2 separate regions of the Homo sapiens genome follow, and region 1 is linked to region 2. Evidence: promoter capture Hi-C in 16 types of primary human blood cells and fetal thymus (Javierre and others, 2016). All regions are on one chromosome and are shown on one strand. Each heading gives the region's core, a stretch centred on a gene start or on the middle of the fragment in contact. The rest is flanking DNA. Distances are from core to core; before and after follow the strand shown.

Region 1 (5,871 bases), core at 1,404-3,903, 110 kb before region 2:
GGGAGGTTGAGATGGGTGGATCACTTGAGGCCAGCAGTTTGAGATCAGCCTGGGCAACATGGTTAAAAGCCCGTTTCTACTAAAAATACAAAAATTAGCCGGGCGTCATAGCATACACCTGTAATCCCAGCTACTTGGGAGGCTGAGGCAGAAGAACTGCTTGAACCTGGGAGGCGGAGGTTGCAGTGGGCCAAGATGGCTCCACTGTACTCCAGCCTGGGAAACAAAGTGATACTCCATCGCAAAAAAAAAAAAAAAAAAAAAAAAAAAATTAAAAATCTACAGAGGAGGAAAACAAACAAAAATAGCAAAAATGGGACATCAATCCAGACATGAAGGAAAAAAACATTTTTTAAATATTCATCATTGTGGCAAAAAAAACCTGCCCTTAAAAAACCAGAAACCTAAGGTTTAAAGAGATGAGTGACCCCTCAATTGTTCCTCTGAGAATAGACTGTGTCTTTCACCTGCTTTTTAAGTCCTCTTCCCAAGGTCTGGCCCGATGTTTGGTCTCAATGGTTGTGTAATGTCTCTGAATGGATGAAATTTACTTCCCTACGGAAAAGTAAAGCATTCTCCAAATGCAAGCAGTTGTGAAACAGTGATAAAGGTCGAGGGGGAAGCAGCATGGCTGAGAGCTGCTTTTGCCTAATGTATTCATTCACCTGCATGAACCAAGCACCCACGTGCATGGATGTGTACTATATACAGACTGTGAGATGTGGACCTGCCTCACAGTGTACCAGGAGAGATGAGAGCATACACAAAGAATCACTGGGTAGAAAATCTACATGAGTTTTAAAATAGGGAATTTCTGAAGCAGCTTACTACTAACAGCTAAAAACCACTGGCTTGACCACATATACAAAGGCTGCAATCTCAGAGGGATATTTCATGTATTTAGTAAAACCTGGGGAAACGAGGAAGGCAGGGAAGTTGATAAGGACTTGTAGGCACACTTTGGCCCCAGGGAGGCAGGTGGATGCTGGTGGAGAGCATCACCTAAATTAGCTGCCTCCTTTCTTGGCAATCCTGTTATCTACACCATATGAATCCAGTCTTTAGCTGGATATAACCATTCGTTCACTCATTCATTCAACAAGTATTTACTGAACAGCCTAGTCTGTGCAGGCCTATGTTAACTGTCTCCAGCACACTCAATCCATGACATTAAAGTTACAGTTTTGGTCTTTGTGTATCAGCAATGACAGGTCCTCACTCTTACCACAAAGCGCAAGTCAGCTTGGCCTCTCAAGTGGAGAGATAATCGTTCTATAGCAAGAAGTACAAAGATTCTCTGCAGACAAAACCAGCTAGCCAAGGTTCCACAACATGTGTACACGTATAAGTCTGATGGATCAGAAGAAATATGTACCCGGGAATCAGATGTAGCCAGCCCACATACTAACAAACATCAAAGCAAGCCTAGTCAGATTGAGTCCCATTTGAACAATCTTTATAAAGGTTTCTTCATGTTATTTACAATTCAAAGTAAATTTACTTTATAAGCAGCTAGGGAATTCTTTATTTAGTAATGTCCTAACATAAAAGTTCACATAACTGCTTCTGTCAAACCATGATACTGAGCTTTGTGACAACCCAGAAATAACTAAGAGAAGGCAAACATAATACCTTAGAGATCAAGAAACATTTACACAGTTCAACTGTTTAAAAATAGCTCAACATTCAGCCAGTGAGTAGAGTGTGAATGCCAGCATACACAGTATACAGGTCCTTCAGGGAGGCAAGAGACCTTTCGACTGGTCTGCAGGTGCCTCCAAATGCTGGTCCTGTGGAACTTCTTTCTGAGTCTCGTTTTCTTCCAACGCAGTCTGTGGTCTGACACTCAAGTGTTCGGATTTCCGGGAAACGTGACTACCTCCGTGTTGCTTAAAAGACCAGATTTAAGTATCACAGAGATGTTATCATTTTCACTCAATTAATTCGCTAAAGATATATAACTAGGCACATTCTGTCACTGAGTGAAAAATTTAGCACTAATATCTTAGATCCAATTCTACTATAACAAATAGTAAACATGATTTTAAAAAGTCTATAGGGCCGGGCGTGGTGGCTCACGCCTGTAATCCCAGCACTTTGGGAGGCTGAGGCGGGCGGATCACGAGGTCAGGAGATCAAGACCATCCTGGCTAACACGGTGAAACCCCGTCTCTTCTAAAGCTACAAAAAATTAGCTGAGCATGGTGGCAGGCGCCTGTGGTCCCAGCTACTCGGGAGGCTGAGGCAGGAGAATGGCATGAACCTAGGAGGCAGAGCTTGCAGTGAGCCAAGACTGCGCCACTGCACTCCAGCCTGGGTGACAGAGCGAGACTCCGTCTCAAAAAAAAAAAAAAAAGTCTATAGAACCAAATTTCAAAAGCCCTAATGACGACTCACTTGTTTCAAGTAGCAGTCATTACCACAAAATTCTAGTATATTCAGTGTAACAGTATTTGACCTGGAGTTTAAGAACATAAGCCAAGGTTAGGGAAAGAAAACCAAGTCTCTCTTTAACTTCCATCAGATTGGCAACTCTGGTCAACCCTCTGCATCTACAGGTTCCACATATGCAGATTCAACAAACCACGGATCAAAAATATTTTAACAATAAATAAATAAAATAAAAAATATAAATTTTTAAAAATAGAGTATAACTACTTACATAGCATTTACAATGTGTTATGTATTATAAATGATTTAGAGATGATTAAAGTATATGGGAGGATATGTGTAGGTTATATGCAAAAACCACAGCACTTTATAAAAGGTATTTCAGCATCTGTGAATATTGGTATCTGCAGGGGCCCTAGCACCAATCCCCTGTGCATACTGAGGGACAACTATAAACCCAGTAACAATTTTAACAATGAAATACTCACAGTCCTTGCTTCGCCTACTCGTCTTAAAATGACACCTTCTGCCAATAAAGCCTTCCCTGTTTCCACAAATAACTTCTCTTCATCTGTTTCTCCAAGTTTCTGTAGCTCAGTGTACTTCTCCACAAACCTGTAATTCCAAGCAGTCACATTTTAGGTATGTTTGTAAGCATTGTTAAGACGCTGTTACACAATATCAAATGGATAACAAAATCCTTAAAAAATAATATGAATAGCCTAGGACTTATAAAATGGCTTACCGTTGACAGGTAGACTTGAAGTTTGGATTGAATAGATCAAAAGCTCTTTGACCAGACCCATACACTGAATAAAACTTCCTAGAAAATGCAAACAACATAATATAAATCTCCGATTATAGACTGTGGATGAGAATGGAATAAAAGAAATAAAGAATAAGTGCTAGGCACTGAGGAGTTAAGTACGGTATAACCCACATAGCCTAAGCTGAACAGTTTTGTTTTTTTAGATAAGTAATGCACACATGCACATGGTAAATACATCAAATAGCACAAAAGGGTGGCCAGTGAAAAGTAACACTCCCTCCCACTTCTGCACCCCAGCCCCCCAGTTCCCTTCCCAGGAAGCAACACTAACAAATTTCTTGTATATCCATCCAGAAATATTCCACTAATATACTAGCATATATGCACTATCATTCCCTGTCCCCAGCCACATTTTTAACCCCAAGAATAGTAAACCTTGCTCTACATCTTGCCTTTTTAAAAACTGAGGTATGGCTAGGCGCAGTGGCTCATGCCTATAATCCCAGCACTTTGGGAGGCTGAGGCAGGCAGATTACTTGCAACTGGGAGTTCAGCATGGTGAAACCCCATCTCTACTAAAAATACAAAGAAATTAGCAGGCATGGTGGCATATGCCTGTAGTCACAGCTACTTGGGAGGGTTAGGTGGGAGAATCACTTGAACCCAGGAGGCAGAGGTTGCAGTAAGTGGAGAGCGCACCATTGCACTCCAACCTGGGCAACAGAATGAGACTCCGTCTCAAAAAATAATAACAAAATAAAAATAAATAATAAAAACTGAGGTAAAAGTCACACATCATAAAATTAACTTTTTTTTTTTCCAAAGAGACAGGGTCTCACTGTGTCACCAACGCAGGTAGCAGTGCTGTGATCATAGCTCACTGCAGCCTCAAACTCCTGGGCTCAAGCAATCCTCTTGCCTCAGCATCCTGAGTAGCTGGAACTACAGGTTCGCAGCACCACCATGCCTGGCTAAGTTTTAAATTTTTGTAGAGATGCAGTCTCACTATGTTGCCCAGGCTGGTCTTGAACTGCTAGCCTCAAGAGATCCTCCCACCTTGGCTTCCAAAAATGCTGGGCTTACAGGCATGAGCCATTGTCCCCAGCCCACATTTAACATTTTTCAGTGTGCAATTAAGTGACATGTAGAAAACTCACAAAGCTGTGCAACTAGCACCTCTATCAAGTTCCAAAACATTTTCATCACCCCCAAAAGGAGGCACTGTATCTGAGCAGTCACTCCCCATTTCTCCTCCCTACATCTTGCCTTATCAGTGCCATGGAGATTGTTTCCAGTCCTTTACTACTCTAAACCATGCTGCAATCATTATCTCTATTTATAATTTTAGTGCACTACGTAAATAAGTCTGTGGCATAAATTCACAAATGTGGTACTACTGGATCAAGGTATGTGCATTTGTAATTAAGCCTTCCAAATTGCCAAAATGCTTTCCAAAGTGGCTGTACCAATTTACATTCACATAGGTAATATACGAGCACCTATCTCCCCACACCCTGACCAAATGACATTCTCCAGCTGAGCATAGAGGCTCACGCATATAATCCCACCTGCTTGGGAAGCTGAGGCATGAGGATCTTTTGAGGCCAGGAGCTCACCACCAGCTTGGGCAACATGGTGAGACCTGAGACCCTGTCTCTAAAAAAAAAAAAAAAATATATATATATACACACACACACACACACACACACACACACACACACACACACACGAGGCAGGTGCAGTGGCTCACACCTGTAATCCCAGCAAAAATATATATATATATTTAGACCAGGCGTGCTGGCTGATGCCTGTAATCCCAGCACTTTGGAAGGCCAAGGCAGGAGGATCACTTGAGGCCAGGAGTTCAAGACCAGCCTGGGCAATATAGTGGGACACCATCTCTACAAAAAAAATTAAAAATTAGCCAGGAATGGTGGCATACACCTGTAGTCCCAGCTACTCAGGAGGCTGAGGTGGGAGGATCACTTGAGTCCAGGAGGTCAAGGCTGCAGTAAGCCATGATAGGCACCACTGCATCCCAGTCTGGGTTAGATCCTGCCTCAAAAAAAAAAAAAAAATACACAAACACACACACACATGTTCTCCAACTTTTTGATCTTAGCCAACCTAATAGGTAAGAAACCAGAACTCTTTATAGTTTTAATTTGCTTTTCTTTTTAAAGAGACTGGACATCTTTTCAAGTTTAAAAGCAAACTGAATTTCCTTTTCTGTGAACTGTCCAAGTTCTTTGTCCGCTTTTCTATTTGGTGGTTGCTATGGACTAAACGTGTCCCACCAAAATTACTATGTTGAAATCCTAATCCCCATTGTGATGGTATTTAGAGATGGAGGCTTTGGGAGGTAATCAGGTCATGGTAATCAGCCCTCATGATGGGATTAGTGCCCCTATAAGAGATAGAAGAGAGCTTGCTACCACTCTCTGCTCCCCTCAATGTGAGGAATCAGGAAGACAGTCCTCCCCAGAACCTGACCCTGCTGGCACCCTGATCTCAGACTTCCTAGCCTCCAGAACTATGAGAAAGAAATTTCATTTGTTTATAAGCCACCTGGTCTATGGTAATTCGTTACACAGTGGTCTCTTTCTTAATGATTTCTAAGCAAACTTTGTAGCCATATACATAGAAAATTAGTCCTTTGTCATAACATTGCAAAGATCTTTCCCAGTTTGTTGGCTGTCTTTTGATTTTGC
Region 2 (5,906 bases), core at 3,339-5,838:
TCCCTTCCTCCAGGGAACTCTGCCCTGTTCCTCTGGACCAATGTTAGTATTAACTTTATGCCATTCAACCCTTCTCACTGGTTATGCCTCCTCACCCCTCCCCCAGCTTACAGGGCAAATTCTCCAAAGAAAAGGAAAAAGAGTTGGTTCCACAGCAGGGCTACAGATGCTGAGTCATTCTGCCCCCAAATATGCTTAGCTGTCACCCATGACATTTCAGTCTCCCCACCCCCGCCTCCACTGTGCGGTCCTCTCTGCTCATCATTCAAGAGCCTCACCCCACCCCCTCCCACTCTTCCAAAATCCACCCTCAGCCTCTACAGTTTTTACCAAAGATTTTCCTTAATAATGAGCCTCAGAATTTGTGTACCGCTGTGCAGAAATGGCAATAATAATAATAGCTTCGATGTAATGAACACTTCCTCTTTGTCTGGCATACACATGAGATCTCTTTTAACTCTTTCTAAATATAGGAAACTCTGGCACTTACAAAGTCTTAGAGTAAGATGGAGAGCTGGGATTCTACCTGGAGATGCCTAACTTCAGATCTTACACTCTAAACAACTAAGCTATGATGAAAATGTGCACAAAATAACTCAGTTGCTTCCTGGGGGTGGAAGTTAAGCCAGTGGAGTTGGAACTTTTTTTTTTTTGAGACAGAGTCTCACTCTGTTGTCCAGGCTAGAGTCCAGTGGTGCAATCTCAGCTCACTGCAACCTCCGCCTCCCGAGTTCAAATGATTCTCCTGCCTCAGCCTCCCAAGTAGCTGGGGTTACAAGTACGCACCACCATGCCCGGCTAATTTTTTGTATTTTTAGTAGAGATAGGTTTCACCATGTTGGCCAGGCTGGTCTCGAACTCCTGACCTCAGGTGATCCACCCGCCTCAGCCTCCCAAAGTGCTGGGATTACAGGCAGGAGCCACCACGCCCAGCCTAAACATTTTTATCTTACCAAGAATTCCTCAAAGACCCTTGGTGCTGCCACAATGCAAATGAAATGGTCACATTTATAAGAAGGGAGTTTATATTTACAAGGACTGTTATCACATTTATCATTTATGACCTGCTTTAAAGATAAGACATTTAGCTGCATCATCAAGAGTCTGTGATAATGCGCTGACACATCAGAGGTTCTGGGAGCCTGGAAGCCAAGGGGATCAGAGAAACACTGAGTGAGCCAACACAGCTAGCATCCTGAACTCACCAACCCATGGTAGCCAGGGCCACAGCATGACTGAGAAGTCATGGCCACTGGGGAAGGTGAATCCTCAGTCACTGCAACAAGGACTTTGCATGCCACCAAGACACTTTCAATTCCCAAGTCAAGGACCACTGGACCACAGCGCTTTAGGGTCTCCAATGCCCTTCATTTTATTTTATTTTATTTTATTTTATTTATTTATTTATGTTTTTTTTTTGGAGACAAAGTTTTGCTCTTGTCATCCAGGTTGGAGTGCAATGGCACAACTTCGGCTCACTGCAACCTCCACCTCCCAGGTTCAAGCAATTCTCCTGCCTCAGTCTCCTGAGTAGCTGGGATTACAGGCACACGCCACCACACCCAGCAAATTTTTGTATTTTTAGTAGAGACGGGGTTTCACCATGTTGGCCAGACTAGTCTTAAACTCCTGACCTCAGGTGATCCACCCCCCTCGGCCTCCCAGAGTGGTGGGATTACAGGCATGAGCCACCGCATCCGGCCTCCAATGCCCTTTATAGCTCTTGCTTCCTGTAAGTGCAAGAGCCAGCAACACAGAAGCACCACCTCCTCCAGCTCACCTTGGATAGTCAGAGGTGACCCCTGTCAGACACCCAGCTTCCTGTGCCCCAAGGCTCTAGAATACTCCTGCCTCTGCTGCTTATTACCAGAGCAAATGTAGGAAGCTCTAAAGGAAGAATACCAGTGTGAGTGCTGCCATATGCCAAACACTGTGCTCTCTAGTTAAACAAAGAAAAATCCCCTACAGCTCTCTGTGGGGGACTTGAGCCTAAGGAAGTCTTCTCAGTCCCAAGGTAGAGAAGTCACAAATGGCAGATCGTCCTAAAGCTCTTCCAGATCCCTAGCAAGTGTAGATGCCACAAACACCTATGCAGCAGCCCAGGACCCAGTGAGCCAAGAAAGGAAAGGCAGGCCAGGCCTCCTCTGGCCTGGGGCTGCACTGGGGATAGTGACAGCAGCCCTCTGGCCCCCACTTGCCTTCAAGAGTCCAAAGGGATCTAAGGAACCGACAACACCCAGATCATAGCCTTGGACAATTCTGCCCCAAGACCTCCTTAAGAGTCGTCTTTCACACTTAACACTCTCTACTAAAGCACCTCAACCCCATTTCCCCAAGAACAAGCTGGAGCTCTTAAAGGCCTGGATCTCACACCCAGCTGAAACACCAGAATATCCACCTCCACCCAAATCCCTTTATTTACCTCTAATTCAATAGACCAGTGGGCCTAGTCCAGTGCCCAGGGCCTTCCCACCACACAGACAGCAAAATGAGCCCCTGGAAAAGGGCCACCTCATCTGCCCCCATCCTCTAGCTAGCTGTAGGGAGCTGGGATCTGTCCAGACACTCCAGGTCTCCATGGCCACAAGCCCAAAGTTGCATAGGGAGGTCATGAGAAAAGACCTTAGAAGCAGTCTGCTCTTTGAACCCTGGGATTATTCACTGACCAGCCAAAAAGGTGACAACTGTTCTGATGGCCCAGGTCAGACCAGTAACTCTAGGGCAGAGGTCTCAATGGAGGTCCTGGTTCCAAGGGGGTATATTAACCGTCTGGTGTTGAATACAGGTGTCTCCCTACACACATGCATTTTGGAAGGAGAGGAGTTAGAGCTTTCACCAGATTCTCAAAGGGGCCCATGACTCCAACCTCTGGCCCTAGTTGGCCTGGCCCAGGAGCTGGGGATACAGCCCTAGTCATATCAACATCCCTGGGCCATCCTCGCTGTCCAGGGTCTCTCTTCTATTCAAGGATGTGCCCAGGTCGGTAGCAGTATCCTGTTTCCCTTGTCCTGGCCCTTCCAGCTGCAGAAAGTGGACAGCGGGTTTCACACCCAGCCCTGCTGCACACGCTCCAGCTTCCTGGAGACCCGAGCCAGGTTTCTCCCAGCAGCACCTCTCCATCCCAGAGATGGCACCATATTCAAACTGAGGTACCAGTGGCACTGACCCCCAACAACAGAGAGGACCCAGCTTCACACTTGATCCAGCAGGGGCCCAACCACATGGTGAGATGACTTCCTCCGTGAGAGAATTCCTGGGGTCCCTCACCTCCTTCAGGCACAGCTGGCTATAAAGAAAAGGGGTGAAAGGCCCAGTACATCTCCCTGAGTCCTTTCTCCTGGGCCAGGTGGCTCAGGTGCTGCGGGATCACCCAGGGAAGGCTCATTCCTCTCGCTACAAGACGCTGACTGCGGATCAGGTGGGGAGCACGGTGGATGGTCTTCTTGTATCCTCTATCGCCTCCAGGGCATCTTGTTTCTAAACTCCCAGGGAGTCCCCTCATCTTCTACTCCACTACTCCACCAAAAAAAGGAAAATCTAAACCCTCCCTCCCCTTAAAACACATTCCGTCTCAGGAATTTAATTTCAGTGTACGTTTCTTAGAGCTAAAACTTTTTTTAAGGGGAAAAGAAATGGGCAGGGCAGTGCTGGGTGTAAGGCGACCACGCGACCGAGAAAAGGAAGAGGGAGGAATGAATAAACGCTGACACCAGCCCCCCTTGGAGCTCAGAGCCTGGGGCACAGGAGCCGGCGGGGCGGGCGAGCAGGGGCGGGGACAGCGCATTCCCAACTTTCCCTGGCCGAGCTGACGGGAGATACAGCTCCCAGGGGACCGGGAGGGACCAAAAAAGGCTGAGCCGACCTGTGACATCGGCGGGGGGCAGGAAGCGAAGCTCCCCTCCCCCTGAAAGGCGCTCGGCTCCCAGCAGGCGCCCCCGCCTGCCGTCGCCGCCCAGCCTGCGCCCCCAGGCCCGGGCACTGCGGGGAGGGGCGCCCACACAAAAGGGGGAGCGGCGGGAGAGGGGACTCGGGCGAAGCCGGCTCCGGGAGGCCTCGTCTCCCTTCCCTGCGGCGCTGGCCCGCGCCCCCCGGTCTAATCGCGCGCCCCGCTCCCGGCCCCCCAGATGCCCGCACGCCCCCCGCGCCCGGGGCCCGGGATGAGGTGGGGGCTCGGGAAGGAAGGGCGGGCGGGGACCTGCCGCACGCGGAGCTCCCGGGGAGCCGCGCCGACAGCCCCGGGAATCAAACTCGCGACGGCCCGGCCCTCCCGGCGGCGCCTGGGCAACGGGTCCCGAGAAGGTGGGGCCGCTGGGCCGGGGCCGCGGCCGGGATTGCGCGCGGGGCGCCGGCGAGGACCGCGCCCGGGGCCGGGCGGGAGCCGCGGGAGCGCGGGGGTCTTACCGGGCAGCGCCACGCGCGTCCGCTCCGCGCGGGCCGCAGGGGCCGGGCCGCGGGCCGGGCGGGGGAGGGGCTGCAATCCGCAGCGGTGGCGGCGGGGCCAGGCTCGGCGGCGGCGGCGCGGCTGGGGCGCGGGGAGGCGGAGAAAGTGAGGCGAGGCCGGCTTCCTAGCGGCGGGCGGCGAGAAATGCAGCTGTCCCTGCGCGGCTGCCGGCAGGGCCACAAGTGGGGCCGCGCGGGGAGGAGCGGGGCTGCGGGCGGGGCGGGGCGGGGGCCCGGCTGCGGCGCCCCCGGGCCCTTTCCCTATGGCCGACCCCTTTCCAGAGAGGAGGGAAGCGGACCTGGGGGTCCGGAAACCTACATGGTTGCCGGGGGTGGAGAGGGGAGCACCCAGTGAAGGCTGGAAAAATGCCCTCCGTGTACCTCCCTCCCCGGCCGCAGTGACTCCCTAGCTTGCGGGCAGGAGGGCGTGAGCGGGGTGCCTCGACCTCCCGCGCAGAGCGGGGTGCGGGGCATCCTGCCCCTCCCAGCTGCGGAGAGGGTGGGCGGAGGAGACCTGAGACCTCCGAGACTCCGCGGGGAGCTAAGAGCAGGGCTGCCCGACAGGTTCCAGGTCAGTGCCAGGAACCCAGGGTGAGGACGCACAGCTGGGGCTTGGGACACAGGTGTGGAGGAGGGGCACCTCCCTGGAATTAGGGCCCCGGAAAGGAAACCAAATCAAATGCTGAGGACACAGGAGATGGTGGGAAGGGGGAGCAAATCAAAGCTATCACTCGTCCACACCGACAGATACCACCTGCCATCTCCCATTTTCTCCTCCCCCAACCTCCCCAGCATCCCTGATCACTTCAAGGGCTGCTGAGCCCTGGGAAGATTTTCCACGGAAGAACTTGTTTAATAAATGGGAAACTGACCTTTGCTATACTTTTCCCACGTGCTTTCATTTCAGACTCCAATTTGGGAGTAGGTAGCCTAGGTCAGGTGGTGACCACCAAGCACCCTGCTACCTAGGGGATCTGAGGAGGGTGAAGAAGGCCAGATGCAAACTAAGCTCTGTCCCCAAACAACTTGCAAAGGGTCTGCACCCTCCTCCTGGAAAAGTCTGCCTTACAGACCCATTTGCCCATCTGGGCCCAGAACCCCAGGAATAGCCCCCCTCTCCCCTCCTCTGAGCGCTTGCAATTTGCTAGCCTTGCTGAGACAGATCGACACGCTCAGCCTCAGAGACAGCTGATGGTAAAAACCACAAACCAAAGTGCCCCAGACACCAATGTGTTTCCATCATTTGCATGTCAAGGGCAAGTTTCTTCAGCAAGGTGGGAAACTGGGAGGGGGAGAAACCTCAGAACCACACCCTCCTCGGGGAGGCCCAACGTTAGGTTAGCATGTTGAACGGAACTCCAGGACTGGGTTTCCAAACCCCTCTGAGGATCTCCTCTCTCCTGCTCCTCTCTCCCCACACTTCACTCCCTGGTGCATTCAATTTCCGGGGGAGGCAGGGTGCTTGA

What was found. The method cuts DNA at HindIII sites, captures the fragments that hold promoters and counts their contacts. A CHiCAGO score of 5 or more calls a contact.
Region 1: a contact is called between a fragment that was not itself captured here and the fragment with the promoter of CUEDC1 in region 2, in 1 of 17 cell types (neutrophils). The highest score is 6.0, in neutrophils.

Annotation. Positions count from the first base shown.
Region 1 is chr17:57,838,047-57,843,917 of GRCh38, forward strand. It overlaps MRPS23 (mitochondrial ribosomal protein S23), which reads right to left. Exons shown (of 5, transcript NM_016070.4): 3 at 3,137-3,214; 4 at 2,880-3,006; 5 at 1-1,889. The coding sequence ends at 1,737. Among named protein-coding and RNA genes, the nearest start is that of MRPS23, 9.1 kb to the right of the region's middle. The HindIII fragment of the contact is 7,205 bases long and covers 1-5,871 here.
Region 2 is chr17:57,950,824-57,956,729 of GRCh38, forward strand. CUEDC1 (CUE domain containing 1) reads right to left here and starts at 4,589. Exons shown (of 11, transcript NM_001271875.2): 1 at 4,402-4,589. RefSeq lists an enhancer at 1,654-2,155 and a silencer at 4,444-4,513. The HindIII fragment of the contact is 9,939 bases long and covers 1-5,906 here.